Linked DNA regions of Homo sapiens: region 1 is linked to region 2. Evidence: promoter capture Hi-C in 16 types of primary human blood cells and fetal thymus (Javierre and others, 2016). All regions are on one chromosome and are shown on one strand. Each heading gives the region's core, a stretch centred on a gene start or on the middle of the fragment in contact. The rest is flanking DNA. Distances are from core to core; before and after follow the strand shown.

Region 1 (6,988 bases), core at 1,790-4,289, 2.7 Mb before region 2:
AACAGTGTGAAAGAAAAAACTTAGATAATTTCCTATTCATTTTTAGGAAGACACCAGCAGGACAAGCTTCTATACAGCTATCCCCAGTGAACTGCCCCAGTCATTGAAGAAATTTTCTCTCTGTGGTCCAGTTAATACTTGTTAATAAATAAAATTGAGAGGTAAAAGTACAAATGTCATTAAACTGACATCAGGAACTTCACAAAATAACACTTTAGCATCACCAAAAATGATGGTTGCTATGACTGGGTGAGCACACATTCAGCAGTATATATCTGCATGTAAGACCCTGGTGCATAAATTATGATTTTTCAAAGAGAATCAAAAAAAAAGTCCTCTGACTATGTCTTGCTTAAGGTGTCACATATAGTTTTTAATTTTAAAAATAATGAAAGTTTGTGAGTACATTCCATAATAAAAGCAAGTTGGGTTACTTAAAAGTTGCTTTGCTTATCAAAAAATTTGGAATAAAAGCAGGAAATAAACATAAAAGAGACTCCCTAGGCATTTTAAATTTCCTAGTAAATAGATCTGCTTCTACTGACAAAGCCAATTTGTTAATTCATTCTATTAGCCATGTGGTGCTAGATGCTAAGAATAAGGTCCAGTTATAAAGGATTTTTCTATTTTTTAAATTTTTTAGACAGGATCTCACTCTGTCACCCAGGCTAGAGTGCAGTAGCCCAATCATGGCTCACTGCAGCCTCAACCTCTCAGGCTCAAGCAGTCCTCCCAAGTAGCTAGGACTACAGGCGCACTCCACCATACCAGGCTAATTTTTGTATTTTGGGCAGAGATGGGGTTTCACCATCTTGCCCAGGTTGGTCTCAAACTCGTGGGTTCCAGTGATCCGCCTGCCTTGACCTCCAGTTGTAAAGGATTTCAGTTTAGTGGGAACATTAATTTCCAAACATATCATTGTAACAATTATAATAACAGAATGAATATACAAAGTACTATGAAAGCACAGAATATCCAGGATTGTCTTCTATTTTGGGCAAACTGGCCTACAAGCTAAGTCCTGAAACATAAAAAAGAACAGGCACAAAACACATGTCTGGCCTCTGAAAGTGAAATAAGACTACTTAACAATACAAAGAGACAGCGAGGAATGAAAAGATTATGTGTTGTATTTGCACTCACAAAATTGCTATTTGGAAGTTAATCTGCATGGCTTTGATTCACTTTGGCCAAGGAGATACAATGAATATGCCACTCTTAAGTGTCATATTTCATTATAAATGAAATGTGGATCAAGTTCCCATTTTTAAAAACTAGTCACACTTCTGTGTATTTAAGAAGCTATGTAGTAGCCCTCCAAGGTACACACTAGCAACAAGAATAACAAGAAAAATGCTAAAACCCCAGAAATAACTAACTAGAAATTGTATAATAGCAGCTTCTGGAATCTATCTCTCTACTTCTCCGTATATTATCAAAATGGAAAAAAAAATTTGATGCTAAAATATGAAGACTCACCTAAATCCAAAGACACCGGTATTAGCCAAAACATAAGCTAAGCCAAGGATGCCACTTCCCATGATGGCATTCATCAAATTAAACACTGATAAACCAAATGAAACACCTGGGGATCGCTGTCTGTGAAGTTCCTGTAAGCACACAAATTTAGTAGTGTTAAATGTTTGGACGGTGAAGTTAAAATTTCGTAAAGAAATTCCATAAATGAAAGATTATGGAAAAAAGCTGCAAACCACCAGGGTTTGTATGACACACTCGTTGCTTAACCAACACTAATTTCCTTTCCTTTCCTTCCCACCTCCCACTACTGCAGCTCCAGGAATCTAGGGTTTCTTAGGAAAATGATTTCCACCAGTACACAAGACAGGCAGAGTTCAGGAAGGGCCATGACTAACCTTGTGACTGCAAGAGATGAAGATAGGATGGGAATGGAGTGGGGAGAGAGAGGAGGGATAAGGCCTCAGCTCATGTGATTACTAAAGAATTGCTGAGTCAACCTGGGACTGCTGTGGGCAGTTGTTTCTCCTCAATTACTAGGACTGCACAACTAATCTCTACTTATATATCTAATGAATTAGTTCTACCAAACTGGAAGGATGGTCAGGAATATCTTGCAATGACAATATTATAAACAGAAGCAATTCACGTTGTTCTGGCAGTATCCCTGAAAACATCCCCCTCCCCACAAACAGCACCGGGAACAAAGTCCTGGGAACAGTGTCTAGGACTCGAGTTAAAAAGCGGAGTGCCCACTGCACAGGCTTTAGGGTCAGGAACGTGCTATGCACTTACTACCAAGCCACTTCCATTCTACCGCTAAGAATTTCTGTATTAAAATGTTTATTATTTTCCCTCCCCCCATGACTAAGTCGGAAGAGGAAAATCCTGTGACTCTTGCAAAGACCTCACGAGACTGGTGGAGAAAATAAGGTGACAAAAATACTAACTAACAGCAGTGAGTACATAATCCTAGGGCCGCTCATCCCATCATGTTCGCAGCTTCCACTCAACGCTGCATCTCTTCCACCCGACGCTTTTCATCTTTTCTTTCTAGAGTATGCTAGGCTGCTATCACGTTCATAACTGCGCCAATCTCATCTGAATCTCGGCGGCTGCCTTCAGACCCCATCCCCCAGGGTTCAGGCTCCAGCATCTCCCCTGTCCCGGTGCGGTCCTCCTTTTCTGGGTCTTATTTGGCAGGCACTTGAGGGAAGCCGGAGGGCGTCAGCGCGGGGAAGCGAACACAGCCCACTTACGTTGCTTAGCAACGGACTCAACTCTTCGGCCTCCGCTTCTTCAGGCTGCTGGACAGAGACATACCAGCCCCGCTCAGCGTTGAAGCTCCCCCAGGACGCCTCCATGCTGCTCTCCAGCTGACTACCAGTTCCATCTACGAGCCTCTACCCCTGCCCTGCGCTCCAGTCGTCGGTCGCGCCAGAGGCGGAGCTTTGAGCCCGGCCCTTCCGGCATTCCGTACTTCACCAGGGCCTGGAAGGAGAGGAGCGAGTCGACTTGATCTGATGACGCGCGCCCTCTTCGCGGCGAACAGTGATGATGTCATAGAAGACCCGCCCATCCACCCGCGACCCACATCCGATCGGTACCGGAGCGGGAGGTGAGGGGTCGGCTCGCGGATCCAGCTGCAGAGCGACGTGGGGAATTGGAATGGTGCTTTGGTGAGGTGGCGGCCGCGTTAGGGGCTAATGGTCCAGGGGAGGTACCAGCCCGCCCAGGGCTGCTCTCTGCCATGTGCTGCCTGGGCACAGAAACATCGCGAGGTCACCCACCCGCCTAGGTGCTGAGCTTAGTTTCGAGGTTCTGGATAGTAAGGAATGTTTCAAAAGCCTTTCGCCACATTTTACTGGTGGGAAAACCGAGACTTATAGTAATTTATCCAGGGTCACCCAGCTGGTCAGCTGCTAGAACCAATTTGATCTCTGACGGTGAAGTTAGACTTCGTTGCTTTACAGGATTCTGGGACAGGGCCCTTTCCCCTTACAAGTAAATTCTTTGGTATTTTAGAAGACAGTGAATAACTGATACTATGCATATAACAATCAGCAAAGCTCTCGTCCTCAAAATACAGAAGCCTCTAGTTAAAGGCAGGACATGTGGCAGTAAAGCATCGAAAACAAACAACAGAGCAATATATTAAGAACACAAGCACCGAAGTCAGTCAAAACTAGGTTTTAATCCATGTTTAGCCACTTATCAGCTGGGAGACTTTGGGTGGGTTACCTTACGTCTGAGCTTTAGTTTACTTATTTACAAAATGAGGGTGCAATACTGCACACCTCCCAAGATTCATAATGTACATAAAGCATTTAGCGCAGTATCTGACACAATAAGCACCCATGAGACTATCCTAATAAATATCACCACTAGTAATGGTCATGTATAATGACTATTTCATTTACAGATGACCATTTAACTCATACTTCAGTCTTCCAATCCCAAATGTATTATCTAGAAAATTGTGGGTGAAGAGGATCATTGAGTATGGCTAATGGATCACTAAGCCCTCTGAACTGGGAGCAGATGGGTTGAAGGTGTAAATTTAATATATACCACTATTATCTACCACTAATACGACTTCCTGAAGAAGTCATCCTAGTCTGGAAAAGATAGTATACTTCCCACACATCACTAAACGTTTTATTTGTCAGCATTTAGCCCGTTATTTGAGATAGTAGAATTTAGATTTTTATTCTCAAAAGCTGTCGTGTGTGAATTTTTTTTTTTTTTTTTTAAGGATCTTATGGAGGCCATTTGGATTCTCAGGAAGATTTCTGAAACTGGAAAGCCATAGCATAACTGAATCAAAATCGTTGATTCCAGTAGCTTGGACATCCCTGACACAGATGCTTTTGGAAGCACCTGGTATTTTCTTATTGGGTCAAAGAAAAAGATTCTCAACCATGCCAGAAACAGAAACACATGAGAGAGAGACTGAATTGTTTTCACCACCTTCTGATGTCCGAGGCATGACAAAACTTGATAGAACAGCTTTTAAAAAGACAGTCAACATTCCAGTGCTTAAAGTGAGGAAAGAAATAGTCAGTAAATTGATGCGATCCCTAAAAAGGGCAGCATTGCAGCGCCCAGGCATAAGACGTGTGATTGAAGATCCGGAAGATAAAGAAAGTAGACTAATCATGTTGGATCCCTATAAAATATTTACTCATGATTCCTTTGAGAAAGCAGAACTCAGTGTTTTAGAGCAGCTTAATGTCAGTCCACAGATCTCTAAATACAATTTGGAACTAACATATGAACACTTTAAGTCAGAAGAAATCTTGAGAGCTGTGCTTCCTGAAGGTCAAGATGTAACTTCAGGGTTTAGCAGGATTGGACATATTGCACACCTAAACCTTCGAGATCATCAGCTGCCTTTCAAACATTTAATTGGTACGTGTGTCATAGTAATATTCATGTATTTGAAGGGAATTTGCAAATTGTTAATTTTAGCTTTAAAAATTATTTTTTTTAATGCCAAGTTACAGAGGCAGAACATTTTATCATGTTAACTTTAAGCTAGATCTTGAGCTACATACCCTCTTTTGAGGGCCATTTTGAAATATCTTCTTTAGTCATAGCAAGTTCCAAATACTGGTCCAGGCTTTTGTGTACAACAATACATCAGTGTAGATTAAACTTGAATCACATGCTTTGGCAGCTACATTGAGGAGAGATCTTTTTGGTACACAAGACTTGTTAGGCCTTCAGGGCTATGTTAAATACTAGGTTTCATAAATTTGGGTACTTTATAGTCAAAAGTGCAAGATGTTTACTTATGCTTTCATTGATTCAACCAATTGAGCCTCTTCTATATGTCAAGCACCATACTGTCCTGTTACACATTTCTTTTGTTTTTATTGATGAAGGGAGTAATAATGGATAGTGGTAACATAAATACTTAAGCAGATCCTTGTAATTGTGACTGGGTACAAATGTCAAGTCTAGGCTTTCCTGTGAGTCACTGCCTACCCTAACTCAAACATTCCTCTGGCATTCCTATTTTATAAACTTTCTTTCATAGAGGCACTCATACATTAAAAGTGAAACATTTTCATACAGTAGTAATTTTAAAGCTTTTACTATAGACCTTCAGAATAGTTTTTAAAAATTTATAAATTTCATTCCTCATTTCAAACTAAATTCTGTACCTTAAAAGTTGAGTTCAGATACATGAAGCAGAAAGGGTAAGAACAATGATTAATTCGTTTATTGATACTATATTAAAAAACAAGTATCTGATTATCAGAAATGGGACAAATGCTGGTTGTATTTCAGGATATTGTATAATTGGGTACTGTGTGCTGATTTACAAATCAAGTTATGCAATGAGATAGCATATAGATTTTTATAACTTTTTTAAAGTGCTAACTAAAAAAATAGATTCATCAAATGGCCATGAGTATGCCAGTTCTGTAGCTTTTTTTGCTCTGAAGTAAATGAACATTTAATTTAGATAGGACTGTAAATAATCTATGTTTCTTTTTTTTTGGAAACATTGTTTTGCTGGCATATATTTCTAAAGTGGGGGCATTTGTTCCAAAGCCATAGTAAAACAGACATTTGGCTTGAGGCCAGTGGAACCGGCAGATGTTTTACTGTTTTCTGAGGCCATTTGTTGCCAGGGTCCTTTACATCTCTTTCCATTCTTTCCCAATTCCTTGTGATCTACCTTTTTGGTTCCTTGTTTATTGGTTCATTTGAAAAGATTTAGTAAAACATGGAAAAAACATTAGGTAGACCCAAACTCCTCAAAACGTTTTCTTTAAAAATGTACCCAACATTTTGTGTGTGCATATTAGCAACCGTCAGACATTAACTTTAGTCATCTGTTGAATTTTTTAAATTGCATGCCACATTACACACAGTAGGTGCAGTCTTTATCAACCAAAAGAAATACAACTCATTTCTGTTTCATATTAACAATGTTAGCTTTTATTTTGCAACCAATAGGCAGTATTATGGATTTTCATTTTTTCTTTTAGGCCAGGTTATGATTGACAAAAATCCAGGAATCACCTCAGCAGTAAATAAAATAAATAATATTGACAATATGTACCGAAATTTCCAAATGGAAGTGCTATCTGGAGAGCAGAACATGATGACAAAGGTATATTTTATTATCTCCAAGTAAGGTGTATATCAATATTATGTTTAGAGTCAGAATAGATGACAAAGATTTAAAATACTTGTAACATCCAGTGTTGGTGAGTATGTGAGAATGTGATCACTTATGTATGCTATTGATGGAATAACACTGATAAAGCCTTTTCAGAAGAATTGGTTAAATTCTCATATAGTGATACAATGGAATATTTCCATCATTAAAGGTTTTTTAGCTCCATATTTGTTAAAATAAGTTGTCCATCGATAGGTTGACAATGGACAATTGCCAGAAAGCAATATAAGTGACAAAAAGCAAGTTATAGAACAGTATGTATAAAATAGTTCTCGAGATATATTTAAACCTTCTAGGTTATACCCAGAAAGACTT
Region 2 (7,222 bases), core at 1,826-4,325:
TTGGCACTGACATCGGTTCCCACTGTCAGGTAGGCAGGCTCATCTGCCGCCTGGTGAAAGGAACATAAAACTGTGAATGTCATTACTATGCCTCCCTACTCCAACCTCAAGTCTCATTAAAAGGTTGTGTTTGAAGCATTAAGAATATTAAAATGACTTGCTTATTAATATCATTGAAAATTTGAAAAATACCCTAAATACTTGATTAGCAACCTTTCATTTTATAGACTGATGTCCTGATATGATAAAATGTTTTAAAGTTGTAATTCAAAATTATCAGTGATTAATAATGTTTTGTCTCGATACAAAATTTTTCAAAAATTCTACTATTATATAAGCAGAAAGATAAGAAAAAAACAGAAAAAATATTTCATATTACACATATCATAAAACTAAGTTATTCATTTATAGCTTCCTGAAATTTTTCAAATTAAAAGAAATATTGCTACTAATATTAACACTAACAATACATAATTGTTTATTGACATAGCCACATAAAGGTAACATCTTTTCATAAGGAAAGTATCATTTGGAAAATTCATTTGCTAAAAGCTGCACTTGAAAGGTTTTAAGTCTGAATTCAGCCGATGAATGCAGATATGAACTGATGGCTCCAGACTTGTAGGTATACCTAGTTTACCACACTAATCTTCTTAGTATAAAAAAATAAGCGTTACTAAGAAACATCTACTTTCAGCAAATGGACACGACCAGAATGATACATAGAAAGATGTAAGAAATGTCACTCTACCACTCATTTTAATTTTTACAGTAACAGGATGATTGCTATCTCAATCTGTCATTTTACCTTTTTTTTTTTTTTCCGGAAGTTAAAGTGTATCCATACAAGTTCAACTTAACATTGTTAAGTGCAAAGTTAACAGTGTACACTTTGGAGATACGTTTTGAAGTAGAAAATGATTTTTTGTTTTCTAATAAGTTTTCCCAAGTAATATTAAAGAAGGTTAAATATGTCATTTACTTCGAGAAAATAGAAAACCACGAGAAAGTTTGGGAAAATGCTATATTTCAGAGCTTAATATGCTGAAACAGTAAATAAGACAGGAATTGGGTACCTTTTAAAGTAAGTGCATTTACAAAAAATACAAATTGAATAGGAATGCTTTTGGCAAACAAAAATCTGACCTGAAACATTCAATGGCCACAGCATTCAAGAACGCTATATGAGATCCTTTCCCTTTAACCATCCACATACTGATATTTGCAGTCATCCTCAGTAGAATATGTATCTTTTTAGTATATGTTTTAAAATACTTATTGGAAAGATTTAACTAAAACTATTATTATACTTCAACTTCAAATATTTTAGCCACATAAGTTCATTTTACACACAGAAGAAATGATACCTTCATTACTTAATCCACGTATTCTTTCTTTTAGAAAATCGCATTGGCACACGGGAAGAAAAAAAATTTACAAAAAATCCCCCAAAGAACCAAAGCAGGACAAAAGCTTTACTTCTGCAAAGGTTGCTGCCAACACAGGAAGTGTTTAAAAATACTATCCGAATGGACAACAATTGAAAGGCTGCACCAGCCTTTCCAAAGTACTGCTACAGAGAGGGCCTAAACTCCGCATTTAGACACACAGATCATTTTTCACCCATTCAACACATCCTCCTATGCCGAAACTGCTGATCAGTAGGAACATCAATTTTGAGTAGCAAAACAAATGACATTCCACGGCACTAGCCTTAGGATTGGCAGTGTTCAGGGCGCGAGGATCGGGGCAGAGTTGACTCCACTTACCTTCATTTTTGTTGGTGATCTGTGGGGTTCCAGCTCAGCGAGCTATCTTCGCAGTCGCTAGAACTATGGGGAGGGGGAAAGACAGGCACAGACATAATCAGTCAACTGCGGGGAGCGACCAAGGGAAAGAAAGTAAACAAACGCCAGCGGGGAGGGGCAGAATCCTCACCAGCCAAGGGACAAGACCCCTTACGAGGGCAGCCAGGACGCAGGAGCTGAGGGGGCAGCGAGAACCCCACGAGCGCCAAAGGGCAGCCCGTTCCGCCCCGGAGCTCGCCAGCGGCCCACCGCGCCCCCGCCTCGCTGGCCACTTTGACCCGGAATGCTCAACTCGGAGCTCCAGGACAGATAGCTCCGGAAAAGGCCAGAGCTCCCTTCGGGCTTCCCCAGGTCCCCCGCGGAGACGACCGCCGAGCCTCCGCTCCGCGGTCCCCCGGATACCCCGACTTCGGCCCGCGCCCCGCCTCCGCCGCTCGGCCCCCTCGGCCCGCCCCGGGCCCGCGGTGGCGGCAGCGGAGTGTCACGGCGCCATTGCTCTCCTTCCTTCGCTCTGCACCATGTCAGAAAGGAGAAGCGCTCCTTCACCCAAAGGGGCAGGGGCCGCGGCCTTCAGCCGGGAGCCGCCAGAGCCCCGGGGGACCCGCGTGGGGGAGGGGGCGGGGGGCGGAGGGGAGGAGGAGGGGAGGTGGCCCGGACAGGGTGTGGGAGGGGAGGGGAGCCGCACCGCAGCAGCCGCTGCCTCCTCCCAGCGCCCGCCTCAACTTTTTGTACAGCCCAGAGAGGTATCAGCTCGTAGCCCCTCGAGTCCTGCCACGGACTCCGCAGAGGTGGACGCGCCGCGGAGTTGGGGGACGGCTCCCCCAAGCAGCCCGCTCTTCACCGCGCGGAAGCAAACTTAGCGGCGCGGCCAGCCCCACAGCCATTTTCCCGGGAACCCGAGGAAGCGGACGAGGAGGCGGCTGCAACTGCGGCGGCGGTTCCTGCAGTTGCTGCCGCTGGTCAATGGCTGGCCCCTTCCCTTGCGCTCGCCGTGCCACTTGCCTAGCATCCCTCTCCCCACCTCCAAAGCTTCCAACTGCACCGGGACCTCGGGCAGCAGCAGCTGCTGCTACTGCCACTTCGTCCATTCAGTATCCCCGGATTCCCCTCTCCCCACCTACCAACTGCGGGTGAAGTGCGCGCTGTCAGCTCCAGAGTCCTCCTCCCCTCTGACCTCCGTGGGCCCCCGTCCGGGCAGCACCACTCCCAGCCGCGGCTGCAGTTCCTGCGCCGGGTTCCCCACTCGCCCCGATTTACTGCCACAATCCACCAAATAACAAGCTGTTGAGCAGACTCGCTTCTACACGAACTCCTATTGGCTGCTCATGACGCCGAAGAGCTTCGGATAGGACCTCGCTACCTGCCGTCCTCATTGGATGTAGCTGTGAAACTTCATGGATTGGTGAGAAAAACAGCAGGTAGGACATCTTCCACTTATGATTGGCTTTTTCCGAAAACCAACTTTATTGGAGAGTTGGTTATTGAGTAAGCAAGTCCTGAGAAATGATTGGTAGAGACGACTCCGGATGTGCTTGACTGGGCACTGATTGGTGAATTGAGGGGTCAGGAAGAGCAGTTCGACACGAGGATTGGCGGCGGAGTGTCCCATGGAAACGGAACCCAGAATTGCAGCCAGGGGCTTGCACGGGGGCGGGGCAGGGTCTGTCCAAGGCGCTTGCGCTAAACCAGCTTGTCGGCGCCATTTTGTCTCGGCAGCGGTGGCCGTAGCTCCATCGCATTTTATGTTTCTGGCGAGAAGGGAACGGAGTTTTCATCAGGTAGATTGGTTTTTGTGCGGCCGTCCTCCACCGTTTCCTCCAGGACAGCACCTAGTCGTGGCCGGAGGAGTCTCAGAGCTGTCAGAAAGGTCAGTTGGAGGCTATGGTTGTCCGATTGACTGGGGGGATGGCGCAGCCCTAGCGGCACCGGCACCGGAAGTGAAGGGGCCGCAGGCAGCCATGGTAAACTTCTCCCTGCGGCGGGGTGGGGAGAAGGGGCGGGATGAATGGGGGCGAGGCTTCCTCTCCCGCCGAGATAAAGAGGTGGAGGAGAGGCAAACGTCTTTCTTGGAGGTTCTCTTTCGGGTTTTCGAGAATGTGAGAGATTTTCTGGGTTCTGTCCCACTGCAATCTTTCCTGTCTTTGGAAGTGCATTTCGGGGACTTGCCATGTTCTCCACCTGATTGGCACCAGCTGTGGGAGCCTTCTTAGTTAAGACAGGGAAGAAGTGGTTCTTAGAAACATCCTGCATGGGTAGAGGTTTCCGCGTGCTCCTCACGGGATAAAGCTATGAGGAAACTGGAGAAAGCGCTGGCTTTCTGGATGCTGAGGAATTTACTTGCCAGCGCAGACGCTTCTTCTGTGACCTTAGACAAGGGTCTGTCACTCTGCACGAGGCTTATGCTACTTTTTGAAAGCAAACAGTGGTTTTGCAGGGACTGAAAACATCTTAGACAAAAGGACGTCCCCGATAAGATAGACGTTGATCTTTTTCTGTTAACATCTTATATTCTGTTAAACGAAACACACATTTTTAAATAGCGGAATTGGAGTATAAAATTGACTAGTTTTATAGAATGGAGTAATTTTTAAAATGTGACATATCGTCAGTAATCCACGTGGACTAAATTTTCTCAGTAAGAAAACAGCCGAGCAGAATCAGTTTTTTATTCGTAACAGTAATTTTGCTCAAAAGTATTCATAAAAACGTGAAATGCATGTTGGCATTTCTAGTGAGTGACCTAGTCACACTGGATAGATCCTAATAGTTACCCTCAATACCTCTGTTTTAAACCCTACTGCTATATTGGTGGCGCCCATAACTAGAAAATGATTGTGTGACTTAACAATTACTGGGTTTTTTGGCAGTTGTGCTGAAGAAAACAGAACATCTCAGTGATTACTGAGGTGAGTCATAAAGTCTAAAAATCCTTAGAATTGCGGGGGACTACCTGGAAAAACTTTCTATGGATTAGTAAAGAAATACCAGAATGGGAGGAAGGGTAGTTAAAAGATGTTTTGTTTGGTCAGATTCAAATGAGTCTGTATAATTAGCTTTCTAGTGTAATATTTTAGAATGAAATCCCAAAATTAGGACATCCTTATGGACTTGTTTACCCATTTACGTGGTTCTCATTTCTGGACTTTGATATACCTCATGTTTTTGTTATAAAACATTATGCGTATTTTTGTGATTTCCTCCCCCCCACCCGCCTATTTAAAAAGTTCTTATATAGAAAAGATCTTGTAAATGGGAGTGTTTAGGAGTGAGGCTTTTTTTTTTTTTTTTTTTTTTTTTTTGGAGACAGAGTCTCTCTCTGTCATCGAGGCTGGAGTGCAGTGGCGCAATCTCGTAGGAGTGAAGCAGTTTTTTAAAAGACCTTATAAAACAATATATTACTGAATTTTCTAGGGGGTAAGCATCCATAATTCTACGATCAAAGTTTAAACTGTTATTATTGAATCCAAATAATGCATGGACATTTGGAAATTATTAAAAAGCCCAAAGAAGAATACAAAAATGTCTTCCCTCCTCCAAAAGGTAGTTACGGTTTACACTATAGTTATATATTATACAAAAGGCTTTGTCTTTTTTGTTGGTTTTGTTTTACCAAATATTCTAGTGTTGTTCATTACCGTCTATTCTTTATAGAAAACATTGGGAATATTGGAAATATCTTATCGTAAAGCATCTTTTATGTCTTCATAGTGTTTTGTGGGATAAATATATCATAATTTATGTAACGTGTTTATTTTTCTATAATGGCAGTAATATGTCAGTGAATATCCTTGTACATGTTTTGCAAAATATTGTGTCTAAGAAGGTCGTTGCAAAAGTAATCGTGGTTTTTGCATTATTGGAATTTGCCATTTGATGTTGGACTACGTTGTTAAATAAATGTGGTTATGTTATACATCATTTTAATGGGCATTTCTCGCTTTGTTCTTTTGGTAATGACTTATTACTCTCTGTTTATTTCATGTTTATTTTATTTTATTTTTGAGACAGAGTCACGCTCTGTCGCCAGGCTGAAGTCAGTGGCACCATCTCGGCTCACTACAACCTCTGCCTCCCAGGTTCAAGCAATTCTTCTGCCTCAGCCTCCCGAGTAGCTGGGACTACAGGCGCGTGCCACCACACCAGCTAATTTTTTGTATTTTTAATAGAGCCAAGGGGCTTCACCATGTTAGCCATGGTGGTCTCGATCTCCTGACCTCATGATCTGCCTGCCTCGGCCTCGTAAAGTGGTGGGATTACGGGCATGAGCCACGTGCCCAGCCTTCATGTGTATTTTAGACAATGAAAATGATGTTAGACAAAAAAGCAAATTCGAGCAGTTTTCGTTTTTGAGTTAAAAATGGGTTGTAAAACAACAGAGACACCATATCAGCAATGCATATGGTTCAGGAACTGTTAACTTACAGTGCAGTGGTGATTCAAGAAGTTTTTTTGTTGTTGTTGTTTGAGATGGAATCTTGCTCTTTCAGGCTAGAGTGCAGTGGCATGATCTTGGCTCACTGCAACCTCTGCCTCCTGGGTTCAAGCCATTCTGCCTCAGCCTCCCCAGTAGCTGGGATTACAGGCACGCACCACCATGCTCAGCTAATTTTTGTATTTTTAGTAGAGATGGAGTTTCACCATCTTGGCCCAGGCTGGTCTCGAACTCCTGACCTCGTGATCCGCCCGCCTTGGCCTCCCAAAGTGCTGGGATTACAGGCTTGAGCCGCTGTGCCTGGCAGTTTCAAGAAATTTTGCAAAGGGAAGGAAAGTCTTGAAAATCAGGAGCGTAGTGGCTGGTCGCCAGAAGTTGATAACTACCGGTTAAGAGCAATCAGCAAAGCTGATCCTCTTAAGGCTACTTGAGATGTTGCCGAAGAACTCAATGTGGACCATTCTACAGTCCTTCAGCATTTGAAGCAAATTAAAAAGTGAAAAAGCTCGATAAGTGGGTGCCTCATGAACTGACCGAAAAAAAAAGTCATTGTTTTGAAGTGTCCTTATCCCTTATTTTTTGCAACAACAAACCATTTCTTGGTCAGATTGTGATGTGCGAGAAAAAGTGGATTTTATACAACAACTGGTGATGGCCAGCTCAGTAGATGGACTGAGAAGATTCTCCAAAGCACTTACCAAAGCCAAACTTGCACCAAAAAAAGGTCATGGTCACTGTTTTGTGGTCTGCTGCTGGTCTGATCCACTATAGCATTCTGAATCCTGGCGAAACCATTACATCTGAGAAGTATGGTCAGCAAATCGATGAGATGCACCAAAAACTGCAACGCTTGCAGTCAGCATTGGTCAACAGAAAGAGGCCCAATTCTTCACAATGCCCTTCCACATGTTGCACAACCAATGCTTCAAAAGTTGAACAAATTGGGCTGTGACATTTTGCCTCATCCGCCATATTCACCTGA

What was found. The method cuts DNA at HindIII sites, captures the fragments that hold promoters and counts their contacts. A CHiCAGO score of 5 or more calls a contact.
Region 1: a contact is called between the fragment with the promoter of TRMT5 here and the fragment with the promoter of ARID4A in region 2, in 1 of 17 cell types (total CD8 T cells). The highest score is 5.0, in total CD8 T cells.

Annotation. Positions count from the first base shown.
Region 1 is chr14:60,977,130-60,984,117 of GRCh38, reverse strand. It overlaps TRMT5 (tRNA methyltransferase 5), which reads left to right and starts at 3,039. Exons shown (of 5, transcript NM_020810.3): 1 at 3,039-3,155; 2 at 4,232-4,887; 3 at 6,480-6,604. The coding sequence starts at 3,145. SLC38A6 (solute carrier family 38 member 6) reads right to left here and starts at 2,873. Exons shown (of 16, transcript NM_153811.3): 1 at 2,736-2,873; 2 at 1,480-1,610. The coding sequence starts at 2,840. RefSeq lists an enhancer at 2,770-3,149 and a silencer at 6,053-6,347. The HindIII fragment of the contact is 5,504 bases long and covers 69-5,572 here.
Region 2 is chr14:58,294,408-58,301,629 of GRCh38, reverse strand. It overlaps ARID4A (AT-rich interaction domain 4A), which reads right to left and starts at 3,075. Exons shown (of 24, transcript NM_002892.4): 1 at 2,930-3,075; 2 at 1,770-1,832; 3 at 1-50. The coding sequence starts at 1,775. PSMA3-AS1 (PSMA3 antisense RNA 1) reads left to right here and starts at 3,493. Exons shown (of 4, transcript NR_029435.1): 1 at 3,493-3,675. RefSeq lists a silencer at 1,986-2,505 and enhancers at 3,136-3,225, 3,336-3,385, 3,406-3,825, 3,122-3,845. The HindIII fragment of the contact is 5,118 bases long and covers 2,840-7,222 here.